Regions from separate parts of the Homo sapiens genome. Here regions 1, 2 and 3 are each linked to region 4. The links are contacts of gene promoters, found by promoter capture Hi-C in human tissues and cell types (Jung and others, 2019). All regions are on one chromosome and are shown on one strand. The core of a region is centred on a gene start or on the middle of the fragment in contact, and the rest is flanking DNA. Distances in the headings are between cores, read along the strand shown.

Region 1 (3,094 bases), core at 210-2,709, 210 kb before region 4:
CTCGGCCTCCCAAAGTGCTGGGATTACAGGCATGAGCCACCGCACCCGGCCCTGCATTTTTTTTTAAAGATGTAATTTTTTTTTTTTTTTGAGAGGGCGTCTAGCTCTGTTGCCTGGGCTGGAGTGCAGTGGTGCTGTCTTGGCTTACTGCAAACTCCACCTCCTGGGTTCATGCCATTCTCCTGCCTCAGCCTCCCAAGTAGCCGGGACTACAGGCGCCAGCCACCACACCCGGCTAATTTTTTTTTATTTTTAGTAGAGACTGGGTTTCATCTTAGCCAGGATGGTCTCGATCTCCTGACCTCGTGATCTGCCCGCCTCGGCCTACCAAAGTGCTGGTATTACAGGTGTGAGCCACCGCGCCCGGCCTAAAAGACATAAGTTTGCATGTTGCCCAGGCTGGTCTCGAACTCCTGGTGTCAAGTGATCCACTGCCTCGGCCTCCCAATGTGCTGGGATTACAGGTGTGAGCCACCACACCTGGCCTCTTTTTTTTTTTTTTTTTTAAGAGACAAGGTTTCAATATATTGCCCAAGCTAGACTCAAACTCCTGGCCTCAAGCAATCCTCCTGCCTCAGCCTCCTAAGAGGCTGGAACTACCGACAGGTGCACACCACTACGCTTGGCTCCTGTCTATGGCGGAGGTTGCACTGAGCAGAGATTGTGCCATTGCACTCCATCCTGGGCGATAGAGTCAAACAACAACAAAATCCCCTTAAGGCTCTTTCCTAGCAACCAAACGTTTTTCCATTTTGTTAGGAATGGGAAGAAGAGAGGAAATAACTGGCTAAGTAACTACTCTACATCAAGCACGGTTACAAGGCATTTTCCACCATTATTTCAATTTTAATGAAAGCTGCTCATGAAATTAGGTTTACTGGGTCACAGTTTTCAGATGAGGAACCTGGGACAGGTGAAGGGACAGAATTGGAACCCAGTTCTGTCACCATAGATGCCCCACCTGTTCTACACTGGCCTGTCAAGAATAACAATAATAAAAATTATTATTTTAGAGACAGAGTCTTGCTCTGTTGGCCAGGTGGATTGCAGTGGCACGACCTCGGCTCACTGAAACCTTCGACTCCCAGGTTCAAGCGATTCTCCTGCCTCAGTCTCCCGACTAGCTGGGATTACAGGTGCCCGCCGCCACGCCCAGCTAATTAAAAAAATATTTTTAGTAGAGATGGGGTTTCACCATGTTGGCCAGGTTGGATCTCAATCTCCTGACCTCGTGATCCGCCCGCCTTGGCCTCCCAAAGTGCTAGGATTACAGGTGTGAGCCACCGCACCAGGCCCAATGATTATTTTAAATAATAATAATAATTTTTTTTGAGACGGAGTCTCGCTCTGTCACCCAGGCTGGAGTGCAGTGGTGTGATCTCGGCTTACTGCAACCTCCGCCTTCTGGGTTCAAGCGATTCTCCTGCCTCAGCCTCCCGAGTAGCTGGGACTACAGGCGCCCGCCACCATGCCTGGCTAATTTTTTTGTATTTTTAGTAGAGACAGGGTTTCACTGTGTTAGACAGGATGGTCTCGACCTCCTGACCTCATGATCCACCCACCTCGGCCTCCCAAAGTGCTGTGATTACAGGCATGAGCCACCGCTCCCAGCCTTAAATAATTACTTTTATTTTATTATCATTATTTTTGAGACAGGGTCTCACTCTGTCACCCAGAATGGAGTGCAGTGGTGCCATCTTGGCTCACTGCAACCTCTGCCTCCCGGGTTCAAGCGAATTCTCCTGCCTCAACCTCCCAAGTAGCTGAAAGTACAGGTACGTGCCACTATGCCGAGCTAATTTTTGTATTTTTAGTAGACACAGGGTTTCACCATGTTGGCCAGGCTGGTCTCGAACTGCTGGCCTCAAGTGATCCACCCGCTTTGGCCTCCCAGAGTGCTGGGATTACAGGCGTGAGCTACTGCACCCAGCCTAATTACTTTGAAAAATGGGATCACAGGCCAGGTGCGGTGGCTCATGCCTGTAATCACAGCACTTTGGGAGGCCGAGGTGGGCAGATCACGAGGTCAGGAGTTCGAGACCAGTCTGGCCAACATAGTGAAACCCCGTCTCTACTAAAAATACAAAAAATAGGCCAGGTGTGGTGGTGTGCGCCTGTAATCCCAGCTAGTTGGGAGGCTGAGGCAGGAGAATCGCGTGAACCCAGGAGAAAGAGGTTGCAGTGAGCTGAGATTGCGCCACTGCACTTCAGCCCGGGCGACAGTGAGAGACTCCGTCACCAAAATAAAATAAAAAAAAATAAAAAGATCCTCTAGCCCAAATCCCTCCAACACAGAAGCAGTCGGAGAAGCTTGAAAAGGTTAGATGATAGGCCCATGTAGCTTGTCTGTGGAAAGAGCTAGGCTGCAAGACACCTCTGACTCCGTTGAGTGCTTTCTCTTACTCTCCTTTCCCGATTTAAGACATTAAATCATTTAAGACAGTGTCATTTGGTCGGGCGCGGTGGCTAACGCTTGAAATCCCAGCACTTTGGGAGGCTGAGATGGGCGGATCACCTGAGGTCAGGAATTCGAGACCAACGTGGCCAACATGGCAAAACCTCGACTCCACCAAAAAAAAAAAAAATTAGCCGGGCCTGGTAGCGCGTGCCTGTAATCTCAGCTACTCAGGAGGCTGAGGCAGGGAGAACTGCTTGAACCCGGGTGGCAGAGGTTGCAGTGAGCCAAGATCGCACCACTGCACTCCAGCCTGGGCGACAGAGCGAGACTCTGTCTCAAAAAAAAAATTTTTTTTTAAAAGACAGTGTCATTTGATGGAGTTGCTTTCTTGATCGTTGGCTGCAATGAAAGACCTAGCCTCACTGTCTTTTGTGTTGCCTTGGACCGGCTCTTAGGTTCTACTGCCCTAACAGGCAGTGGAGGCTGGCCTCGAGTGGTAGTCATCCATCTTGCCCTCTTTTCCTACCCTCTACCCCCAACCCCCGAGCTGCTCTCCTGTCTCCTTCCAACACTGTTCTCTTTGGGAATATGCATGTCCAACTTCCCAAGCAGTCTGGGATCTGGAGTAAGATGACTCTTGGTTTAATGGAGTTTTTCCACAGTGCTTGCATGTGCCCCAAGGGTTTGGAAGGTTGG
Region 2 (3,251 bases), core at 522-3,021, 220 kb after region 4:
TTTGGCTCTTCTCTCCAAGGCAGACAACAAACTGATGTGGATTGGAAGTGGACTGAGAGAATGAACGGGGTCAGGGTTCAGATATCCATAAATTCTGACCCTGGCAGGTCCCGAGCATCACCAATGTGACCACGATAGAAAGCAGAACAAGTTCCTTGCTTACTCCTCCTTGTCTAAACAACTCTAAAGGTGGGAAGAAACAGCTGGGGAAGGTAGAAGAAATTTCTACTCATTTGCATTTAAAAGGAGGGGAGAGAGAAAGAGAAGGAAGGGTAGGAGAGGAAAGAGAGGACAAAACAATAGAAAACCTGAACAAATGACCCTGACCCTCTTCTTCCAATTGCAGCTATTTAATTCATGTGAATCCCCACATTATCCCTAAGTAAATATTTTGTTTCACAGAAAGCTTGTCCTTTTGTTTTTCTGTGTACACGTGCGCACTGGCGCTTGTGCGTGTATGTGTGTGTGCGTGCATGTGTCATTTGCTACCAGGTGAATGTTTCAGTTCTGGTTTCTGTTTAGTCTTCCTTTTTTTTCTTTTTTCTTTACTTAAAATTATTTTTCCTTTTAGAAAGTTCACCAGGAAACCAGCTCCCCTCCCACCACGCCGGGCAGGCCACAGCCATCTTTTTAAAATCCGCGCTGATTTTCCCTCACACCCCCAAACAGGAACTCCTCAGGATGGCCTCAGAAGGCTGGAGTCTCTCCCTGTCTGGCGGGACACCCTGGTGGCGGTGAAGGCCCCTCTGCCACAACGGAGGTTTCTGATTGTGGGACACAGTCTGGTTTTTGTTTTCTTCCTGTCTTCTAATTAAAAAAGACATTCCTGACAAAAGAGATAAGACAGTCAATAACTGCACCAGAAAATAGAGCATTTAGTAAAATCAACCTTAAGGCAGAGGTTTCTATATTTCCTCAGGTACCTCATTCTGAAGTCTGCCAATAAGAACTCAGAAAAAATAAACAAATAAATAAAAGTCTGGCGTTTTAACTTGTGGGTTCAAGGGAGCTACTGCTTTAATGAGACACCGTCTGCAGTGTGCTTCCAATGCTGAGTGTGCTGTGGAAACAAGGGATGATGTGTCAGGAGGGCAAAGAGCCAGCAGGTCCAGGCCTCCCATTCCAAAGCAACCAGGGAAGCTTTGCCTCAGTCTGCTAAATCCCACAGGCTTCATGTCGATTTTATTTTGAAAGAAGGCTTTGCCTACTAATAACAGTTGAAAACAAAACAAAACAAAACACCAATTTAGATGCTATCGAAAGGATACTGTATTAAGCGGAGTGGTTCAAAGTGAGGACTCTGGTACCAGAATATCTACATGTGAATTCTGGCTCCACGAATAACTGTCAGGCAAATTGTTAAACATTGTTGAACCTCAATTTCCTCATTTGTAAAATGGGAAAAATAGTAACAAATCCAGAAAAGCAGATGAGGATTATCTTAGTTAATACATCTAAAACACTTAAAACAGTGCCCTGACACACAGTAAGGGCACAATAAAAGTTAACCATGAACACCTACAGCTGTCCATGAGCAACCTTATGAGGTGTATCAATGTCAGCTAACCCAGACACCATGCAAAACCAGGACATCCCAAATGATATTATTACTCATTAAAACAATCAAAGTTGAGAAATGATTTTGGGTGTGGCAAGGCACTGCTGAACATCACTTTTACCTATGAATGCATTTAACACAGAAACTACCAGTGAGTGCTACAGATTCATCAAGAATTGCCTCCTGGGAGAAGAAACTCACCTTGAGACATCAAAGGGTGGGCTTAGAGGAGAGCTACCTTTCTTCTCTCCATCAAGAAACTGGCACCCAAATTCTACTACCCACTCCTTTCAGCTAAGCTTCTTGCTTTGCTTCAGAACCAGGAGACGGAAAGCACGTGGAGAAAAGTGCTCATCGGGAGCCAAAGATGCTCCTCCTCTCCTGTAAGGGCCAAGCATCCCTAACAGCTGAAACTTTTTGAACGCTGATATGACCCTCAAGCGAATGAGCATTGGAGCATTTTGGATTTTGGATTTTTGGATTAGGAATGCTCAACTGGTGTGCATTCTGCAAATATTCCAAAATCCCAAAAAATCCAAAATTGAAAAACACTTCTGAAAGTGTTTTTTCCTCCGAAATCCCAAGCATTTCGGATAAGGGATATTCAATTCATACCTCCTGCCCTGGTCAAAACCTGGCACTTCAGCATTCAGGTCATAAAAGTGATAAGAATAAGCTCTTTGCTCATTACATCTGGAGGGTCAGTTTTAGGAGACTGGCACCACATATAACAGTCAACTTGAGGTTGTTTTCGCCAAAGTGGCCAGGTTAAAAATACTTATTTGTTTGTTGCCATGTACACTTACCATCTTAGAAGTGTCTGTAAGGGGAAGGGGGAAGAAAATGTTTCAATGCACTGTGTAACAGTTACTTTCTTATGGAGGTGAAAATGGTACCCCAAAGACACTGACAATTACTGGCTGCCCAGGCCCAAGAAAATCCGGGCCCTGTATATTCCAGCTGTTCACCACAGTTAAACTGCTGAGTCCTTCCCTGACTCTAGCTATAAGACTGGTCCCATGATAGGCATTAAAACCTATCCCCATTCCCAGGCATCCCCAACAGTCCGACAGTCCGGACAAAAGCTGGGAACTATGTATCCTCACCTGGGTGACAGGCACAGTGCAGGAGTGTGAGCTATCGAAACAACCTGGTGAAGTCTCGCAAGGCCCAGCAAACTTGTTTACATTCCTCAGCACTAGAAAAGAAAAGGTAGGTTGGTCCTTGACTGAGGAGAAAGACAGAATATGCTGAAAAACAACTGCAACATTGGGGCACACTGAGAACCGTCCCAACTCTGCTAGGAGCTCTCTCCATCGTCTCCTGAGCGATCCTGGCTTCAGATCTTTCTGTAATTCAGGGCAAAAATTATTATATATGAGAAAAGTTATAAGCTTGGTGGTCTTCAAAGGGTGTACTCTGGACACAAACTGCCCGAGTTTGAATCTTGGCTCCACTGTGCCCTTGAACAAGTTACCAATCTTTGTCTCAGTTTCCTCATCTATTAATATTATCTACTTCATAACACTGTTTAGAGGATTAAAATCGTCCACATACAGAGTGCTTATGAAAATAGAGCAGTGAACAAAATAGTATTCAATAAATGTAGGCTGCTACAACAACACTTGGTTGCTACGGCTCTCATAAGTTTCCTCATTCTCTTCCAAAGATAGATTTTGTTTACAAAGGCCGG
Region 3 (3,329 bases), core at 50-2,549, 140 kb before region 4:
ATCGTTGCAAAAAATCTGGAAGCAGTTTCCCTTCCAGTATTTCAGAGGATATGACCTTCGCATCAGAACTCATCTGACGTAATTCATTAGCGACTGTTGATCACTTCTTTCTTCTCTAAGCATACGGTCTTCACTCGGCTTCCACTCTTGATTTTTCCTCACATCCTCTATCTCTGAACATTAGAGTGTTCCAGGGCTCTGTCTTCAGATTCATTTATCTACCTTCATTTTCTTCTTAACCTCCCTCTCTCTCTCTTTTTTTTTTTTTTTTTTTCAATTGAGACAGGGTCTCACTCTGTTGCCCAGGCTGGAGTGCAGTGGTGCAATCTCAGCTCACTCCAACCTCCATCTCCTGGGCTCAAGCGATTTCCCCACCTCAGCCTCCCAAGTAGCTGGGAGTACAGGCGTCTGCTACCACGCCTGGCTGATTTTTTAGTAGAGACAGAGTATTGCCATGTTGGCCAGGCTGGTCTCAAACTCCTGACCTCAAGTGGTCCTCCCGCCTCGGCCTCCCCCAAAGTTCTGGGATTACAGACGGGAGCCACCACACCCAGCCTTCTTAATCTCATCTAGTTCCTTTGTTACTAAAACTTAACTCCTATGTGCAGAGGATTTCCAAGTTTATGCGTCCAGCCCAGAGCTCTGCCCTGAATTTCAGGCCTGTGTCAGTTGCCTCCAGTCATTTCCTTTTTATGTCTAACAAACATATCAAATGTAACATGTTCAAAACTGAACTCTTCCTTCTGTTCCCCACCCGAAACCCATTTCTCCTACGGCCGCCTTTCTCCTCCTCCTCCTCCTCCTCCTCCTTCTCCTCCTCTTCCTCTTCTTCTTCTTTCACCTTTCTTCTTTCTTTCTTTTTTTTTTTTTTAAATAGAGACAGAGTATTAGTGTATTACCTAGGCTGTTCTTGAACACCTGAACTCAAGTAATCCTCCCACTTTGACCTACCAAAGTGCTGGGATTTTAGATGTGGGCCACCGTGCCTGACCTCCACAGCCTTCTACATCTCAATAACTGTCAACTTTTCTCCTTCTAATTTTTACAGCTAAAATCCTTGGAGTCATTCTTGTCTTTCTCTTCTTTTTATATTATATGCTAAATCCAAATCTATCAGTAAAGCTTATTGATTTTACCTTCAAAATATGTTCAGAATTTTTTTTTTTTTTTTTTTTTTTGAGATAGAGTCTTGCTTTGTTACCCAGGCTGGAGTGCAGTGGTGCAATCTGGGCTCACTGCAACTTCCACCTCCCAGGTTCAAGCCGGTTCTCCTGCCTCAGCCTCCCAAGTAACTGGGATTACAGGCACGTACCACCATACCCAGCTGATTTTTGTATTTTTAGTAGAGATAGGGTTTCACCATGTTGGCCAGGCTGGTCTTGAACTCCTAACCTCAGGTGATCCACCCGCCTTGGCCTCCCAAAGTGCTGGGATTACAGGCATGAGCCACTGCATCTGGCCTATGTTCAGAATTTTACCACTTCTAATTCTCTTCACTGCTGCCACTCCAACTTAAACCATTGTCTCCCACTGAGATAACTGGACCCATTGCTTTGACCTTTGTTTTCTTTTAATCTGTTCTTAACAAAGCAGAGTGATTGTGTTGAAGCATAAGTCCAGTCATGCCACTCCCCTGTCGAAAAGTCCTTAAAGTGGCCCTGCATGGTTTGTTTTCCTCCACCCTGACATGTTTTACTACTATCTCCCTTTCTCATCAGATTCCATGCACGCTAGCCACCTTGTTTTCTCAAATACTCTCTCTCAGTGATGCTCTCACCTCGGGGCCTTTGCGTTGGCTGTTGCCTTTGCCCTAACATTCTTCACCCATATATCATCATGCCCCGCTCTCTCAGTTCCCTCTGGTTTCTGCTTATATTTACTCTATGAGAGAGGCCTACCTTGGCTACACTATAAAATAGCAACTTCTCCCCACCCACCCCACCTGTTATTGAGCTCCTAGGCCCTGCGTTGTTTTTCTCCTTAGTCTACACCAGCTGACGTACTATGATGGACTTTTGTCTGACTTCCCCCCACTGGAATGTAAGCTCCATCAGGTCAAGGACTTTACTTTGTTCACTTGTGTATCTGCAATGCCCAGAACGGGACCTGCTCTAATAGACACTCAGTGTAATTATATGTTGCATGAGTTAGTAAAAGCATTCTTTATAGAGGGACTGGTTAAATGAATTCTAATACATTTGTACAGTGGAATGCTATACAGCTGACAAAAGAAGTGAGGTAGCTGTATATACACCAATGAAAGGTTTCTAAATATGTGTTGATAAAAATAGGTGGCAGAATATTAAGAATTTGATCTTTTAAATGTTTAAAATTATTACATAATTGTGTGTTTTAACATAGGAAATTTGAGGTTTTATTTTTAAGAGAGAGGTCTCGCTATGTTGCCCAGGCTGGGGTACGGTGGCTATTCACAGGTGCAATCATAGCATTATAGCATACTATAGCCTTGGAACTTCTGGGTTCAAGCAATTCTCTTGCCTCAGTTTCCAGAGTAGCTGCAACTAGAGATTGCACCACAGTAGCTGCAACTAGAGATTGCACCACTGCACTCCAGCCTGGGTGACAAAGTGAGACTCAGTCTCAAAGAAAAAAAAAATTAGTATTTGGCCTCACAGTCTAGTGCTCATTCTATACCACCACACTAGCTCCCAGTATGAAGACTATCTGTTTGTACAAAGACAATATATATCAGGCTAGAGAATAAGATATCTGAGCTGACCTCTCACTTTTAACTTTATGACATTACAACATACATAAAGATCCAGGAAGAAGGGAGATGTAGAGGGATTAGAAAAAGGTCATTTCCTCTTCTATTGGTGAGAATGTTGTCAGGGAAAATCATAAGCAAATAGTTTCCTAAATTATGAAAATAGAACATGTACGTGACCCGCAAGAAATTGAGGAGATGGAGAAGAGTAAAATTCTTCCCTTGGATTTCTCAGAGAGATAACTACTGTTAACAGTTTGTGTTTTGGATTTTCTAAGGATTACCATTTTAATGTCAAATAATGTGTTCCTTATTTAATCTTATTTATTGATTGATTTGTTTGTTGGTGGAGACAGGGTCCCACTGTGTTGCCTAGGCTGGTCTTGAACCATCCTCCTGCCTTGGCCTCTCAAAGTGTGGGGATTACAGGCTTGAGCCACTGTACCTGGCCTTATTTAATCAACTTTAAGTAAGATCTATTTACTCCTTGTTGTGAAGGACAAATTTAACATAACTTTCACCCAGTCTTTCTTTCTTTTTCAGTTGTTTAGTTATTGTTACAGTATGAGTGTTTGATATTTAGTTTGTTATTTTAACTACA
Region 4 (3,314 bases), core at 234-2,733:
TCCCTGTAGGCACAAGCTTAGAAACTTTCCCAGGAAGACCCACAGTTCCCACTGTCTTCAGTTCAGGTTCCTCAAATTGACAAGATCTTCCATTACCTCTCCAAACTTACTATCCATGCTTTTCTTTCATTGTTTCCCCCCACCCCTTTTTTTAACCTTCCTCATTTGCTACCTGGCCTGAGAATTTACCTCCCACTCTGCCCTCCACTTGTCCTTATTCCTATTACTCTTCTTGCTGAATAGTCCATTTGGGACTTCCTTAGTCCAGCCTTAGTCATATCTTCCTCTGAAGCCTTCCCTGACTACCACCAAGGGTCACTGACACTCCTTTGAATGCCAGAAGGATTAGTTGTAAACCTTTCACGTTGACAGTAACTAGCTTGCTTTCATGAGCTTAACTGTTTCATGAGTTTACAACTTGTCTCAATTTGATTTTAAACTACAGAGGCTTTATGTGCTAAGAATGCCACAGGTTTACATTCCATTTGTGTTGAAGCTATAGTAGCCTTTATTTGATATTTGTTTTAATTTCATGACATGAAATTAAATTTTCAGGGACATGCAACGGGTTCGGCCCATTCCCTTCACTTAACATTACTGAGCTGGGCAGTAAGCTCAGAGTTGCAGATATAAAGATGAATAGACAGATACCTACCCAGGAGCTTACTCTAGAAGAGGACAGATGGATAAGCTACATTTTATAGCAGAATTTGGCAAAGTGTACTGAAGCTATAAACAGCTATGATGGTAAATAAGGTAAGAATTATGCTTAGTGAGGTCAGGGAAGGCTTCTAGAGCTAACATCTGAACTGGGACTTCTATTGGCAAGGCAGAAAATCAGGAAAACGCACTTATTCCTGGCAGAGGAAGCCTCTTGATCAAAAATCTTAAGAGATGAAAAAGGACCGGTTGTTAGGAAACAGATGATGGTGCCCAGAGCGCAAGATGAGGGGGAGTGTTGGGAGATGGAGCTAAAAGATACACTGGTGCCAAAGACTGAAGAGCCTCCTGTAGATAGCGCAGGGCGCAGCGCTGAAGGGAAAGAAAAAGTTGGGATTGTTCAATAAAGTTGGTGACTGATTCAGTCGGATTAATTCCGCCCTGGTGGTCTTGTGGGAATGAAGATAACTAGCAGGATAGTCTAAGAAGCCCTGTGGAAGCAGAGTCATGAGCTGTGAATGGGGACGTGGCGGCCACACGGCCGCGCCCACGCCACCCGCAGTACGGGGCTGGGGCTGGGGCTGGGGCTGGAGCCCGCCGTCCCAACAATCCCGGGGACGAGAGTTGGGCGGGAATCCGCTCCACGCAACTCGGCGCGGTCCCGGGGACGTGGCGCTTTCCAGCCAATCCCGGCTATGCGATTGTTAGACCAATGGCTACTCGGGGACGCTATGCGACAGCGGCGGGTTTGCTGATGATTGGTCGGGAGGCCGCCGGCGAGGCGGATGAGGGCGGGGTGCGGACCCGCTTCCGGTTGGGCGGTGCTTGCGCGCGTGAGCTGAGCCGGTGGGTGAGCGGCGGCCACGGCATCCTGTGCTGTGGGGGCTACGAGGAAAGGTAAGTACGGTGATGCCCAGCCCCTTCACCACTGCCTCATCTTTATTCGCTTTCTTTCTGTCCCCGGTCTTGTTCTTGGCGCGGCAGGGGACTGCCTCACTCGGTGCCGCTGTCTCTGCTGGCGCCCGGGTCCCAGGCCTGATGCTGCTGGAGATCCCGGGACCCTCTGTGTGCAGCCTGGGATGGAGGCCGCCGCCCGTCTTACCGCGCGCTCTGGGAAGGGGGCTGGTCCGGTGGAACTCTGTCCCGTTGGGTACTGTTCTGTGCCTGGTTTGCTGCGTCCTGGTCCTCCATCTCTAGGTCACGCCACTCACCGAGTCTCTGGCACCAGAGGGTCATTTTTTGCCTCCGGAAGGTCGGAGGGCATTTGGATAGTGTTATTGTAAGAGTTCCTTGCCGCCTCCACTCACCATCCTGCTTGTATCTGCCAGCTCCGCCCCAAGGCCACATCCCGACAGTAGGGTGCATCTGCCAAGGTCGTGTTCACTCACCTAAAGGGTGCAGAAACAAGGGGGGAGAGAACGAGTGACGACACTAGGTGATATCTATGATTTTAAAGAAAAGCTGAATGTTTAGAGCTTCCATATTTGGCTACGTACTTCAGTTAGCGACGGAAAATAGTTTTTAAAGCTTTATTGGGGAATTAATTTTTGTTACGTTTTTTGTTGCTTCTAGCCCCATATCCTACTGATTTTTAGCATGCTGCGGTCAGAAATAAACTTAATTCCCTATAGCTGCCGCGATTAAGCGTAGAGTGGCTTGCAGTTTCAAAAGCTGCTTTTGCATCAAGGCCCAAGCTCCGTGGGTCTCCTGCTAAAACTTTTGAGCCTGTGATCTGAATTCCTAAGTGTATAAAATTCTAGAATAGTGTCTTCGAGAATTGAGTTGCGTTCATTTTCTGGTGTGGACCATGAAGTCAACGTTAATGAATTGGGAATAAGGTGGCTTCTAGTTGTTTTTTGTTCTAGTAGCTTATTCAGCTTGGAGGCAGAGAACCTTGGAATCTCTGTTAAATTAGTCTGCCATAGAATGGAACTTGACACAAGACAAATGCAAGTTTGACCTCACTCAGTAGATTTAATTAACCAAATACCAAACGACAGTAATCACTGAAGAATTTATATAGTATAATCCAAATGAGGGACCAGATATAACCTCTAAGTTGTATTTGTCAAGAAAATGAGTTTGCCAAGACCTAATCTGAGGTTTTACTGTGATTGGGGGGTGGGGGGGTTCCAATAGGATTCTTTTGAGAATCACAAGTAGGAAAGCCATGAGCTCACAAAAATGTATTGAGTATGCCTGAGTGAATAGTACTCAATATAGCTTTGAAACCAACTCATTGTCACTCTCAATGTAATCATTGTTTGTTTTCATTCATCCAGTGATGTGTCAAGAAGTACTTATTGATAGCACTTAATATCCATTAGAGCAGTATTGGGATCTATATATTGGTGTTATTTTTTAAAATTTATTTATTTTAGAGTTGAGGGTCTCAGTATGTTGACCAGGTGGAGCCTTGAACTCCCATGCTCAAGCAGTCCTCCTGCCTCAGCCTCCCAAGTAGCTGAGACTAGAGGTATATAACACCACACCCTAGTACATTGGTGTTAACACAGATTTTCTGTAACGTAGGTATACCAGGGATATTGAAAGGACAGAGGTGTAGCCAAGGATAGCCACTGGAAATGCTAGCTAGGCCACAAGGCCCTAGATTCTCACTCTCTGAACTCTTAAGTATGGATGTTGCTGATGCA

The links. Contacts are between HindIII fragments. The study calls those that stand out against the background at their distance.
Region 1: a fragment that was not itself captured here is called in contact with the fragment with the promoter of CALU in region 4 in 2 of the 25 tissues and cell types used here (hippocampus and mesenchymal stem cells).
Region 2: a fragment that was not itself captured here is called in contact with the fragment with the promoter of CALU in region 4 in 1 of the 25 tissues and cell types used here (mesenchymal stem cells).
Region 3: a fragment that was not itself captured here is called in contact with the fragment with the promoter of CALU in region 4 in 2 of the 25 tissues and cell types used here (hippocampus and mesenchymal stem cells).

What each region holds. Positions count from the first base shown.
Region 1 is chr7:128,526,890-128,529,983 of GRCh38, forward strand. No RefSeq gene overlaps it. Among named protein-coding and RNA genes, the nearest start is that of METTL2B, 52 kb to the left of the region's middle. The HindIII fragment of the contact is 6,916 bases long and covers 1-3,094 here.
Region 2 is chr7:128,954,560-128,957,810 of GRCh38, forward strand. It overlaps TNPO3 (transportin 3), which reads right to left. Exons shown (of 23, transcript NM_012470.4): 22 at 2,665-2,756; 23 at 1-826. The coding sequence ends at 2,696. Among named protein-coding and RNA genes, the nearest start is that of IRF5, 18 kb to the left of the region's middle. The HindIII fragment of the contact is 3,933 bases long and covers 1-3,251 here.
Region 3 is chr7:128,594,900-128,598,228 of GRCh38, forward strand. No RefSeq gene overlaps it. Among named protein-coding and RNA genes, the nearest start is that of LINC01000, 45 kb to the right of the region's middle. The HindIII fragment of the contact is 6,994 bases long and covers 1-3,329 here.
Region 4 is chr7:128,737,876-128,741,189 of GRCh38, forward strand. CALU (calumenin) reads left to right here and starts at 1,484. Exons shown (of 7, transcript NM_001219.5): 1 at 1,484-1,557. RefSeq lists silencers at 1,091-1,230, 1,301-1,440 and an enhancer at 1,721-1,820. The HindIII fragment of the contact is 3,801 bases long and covers 1-3,124 here.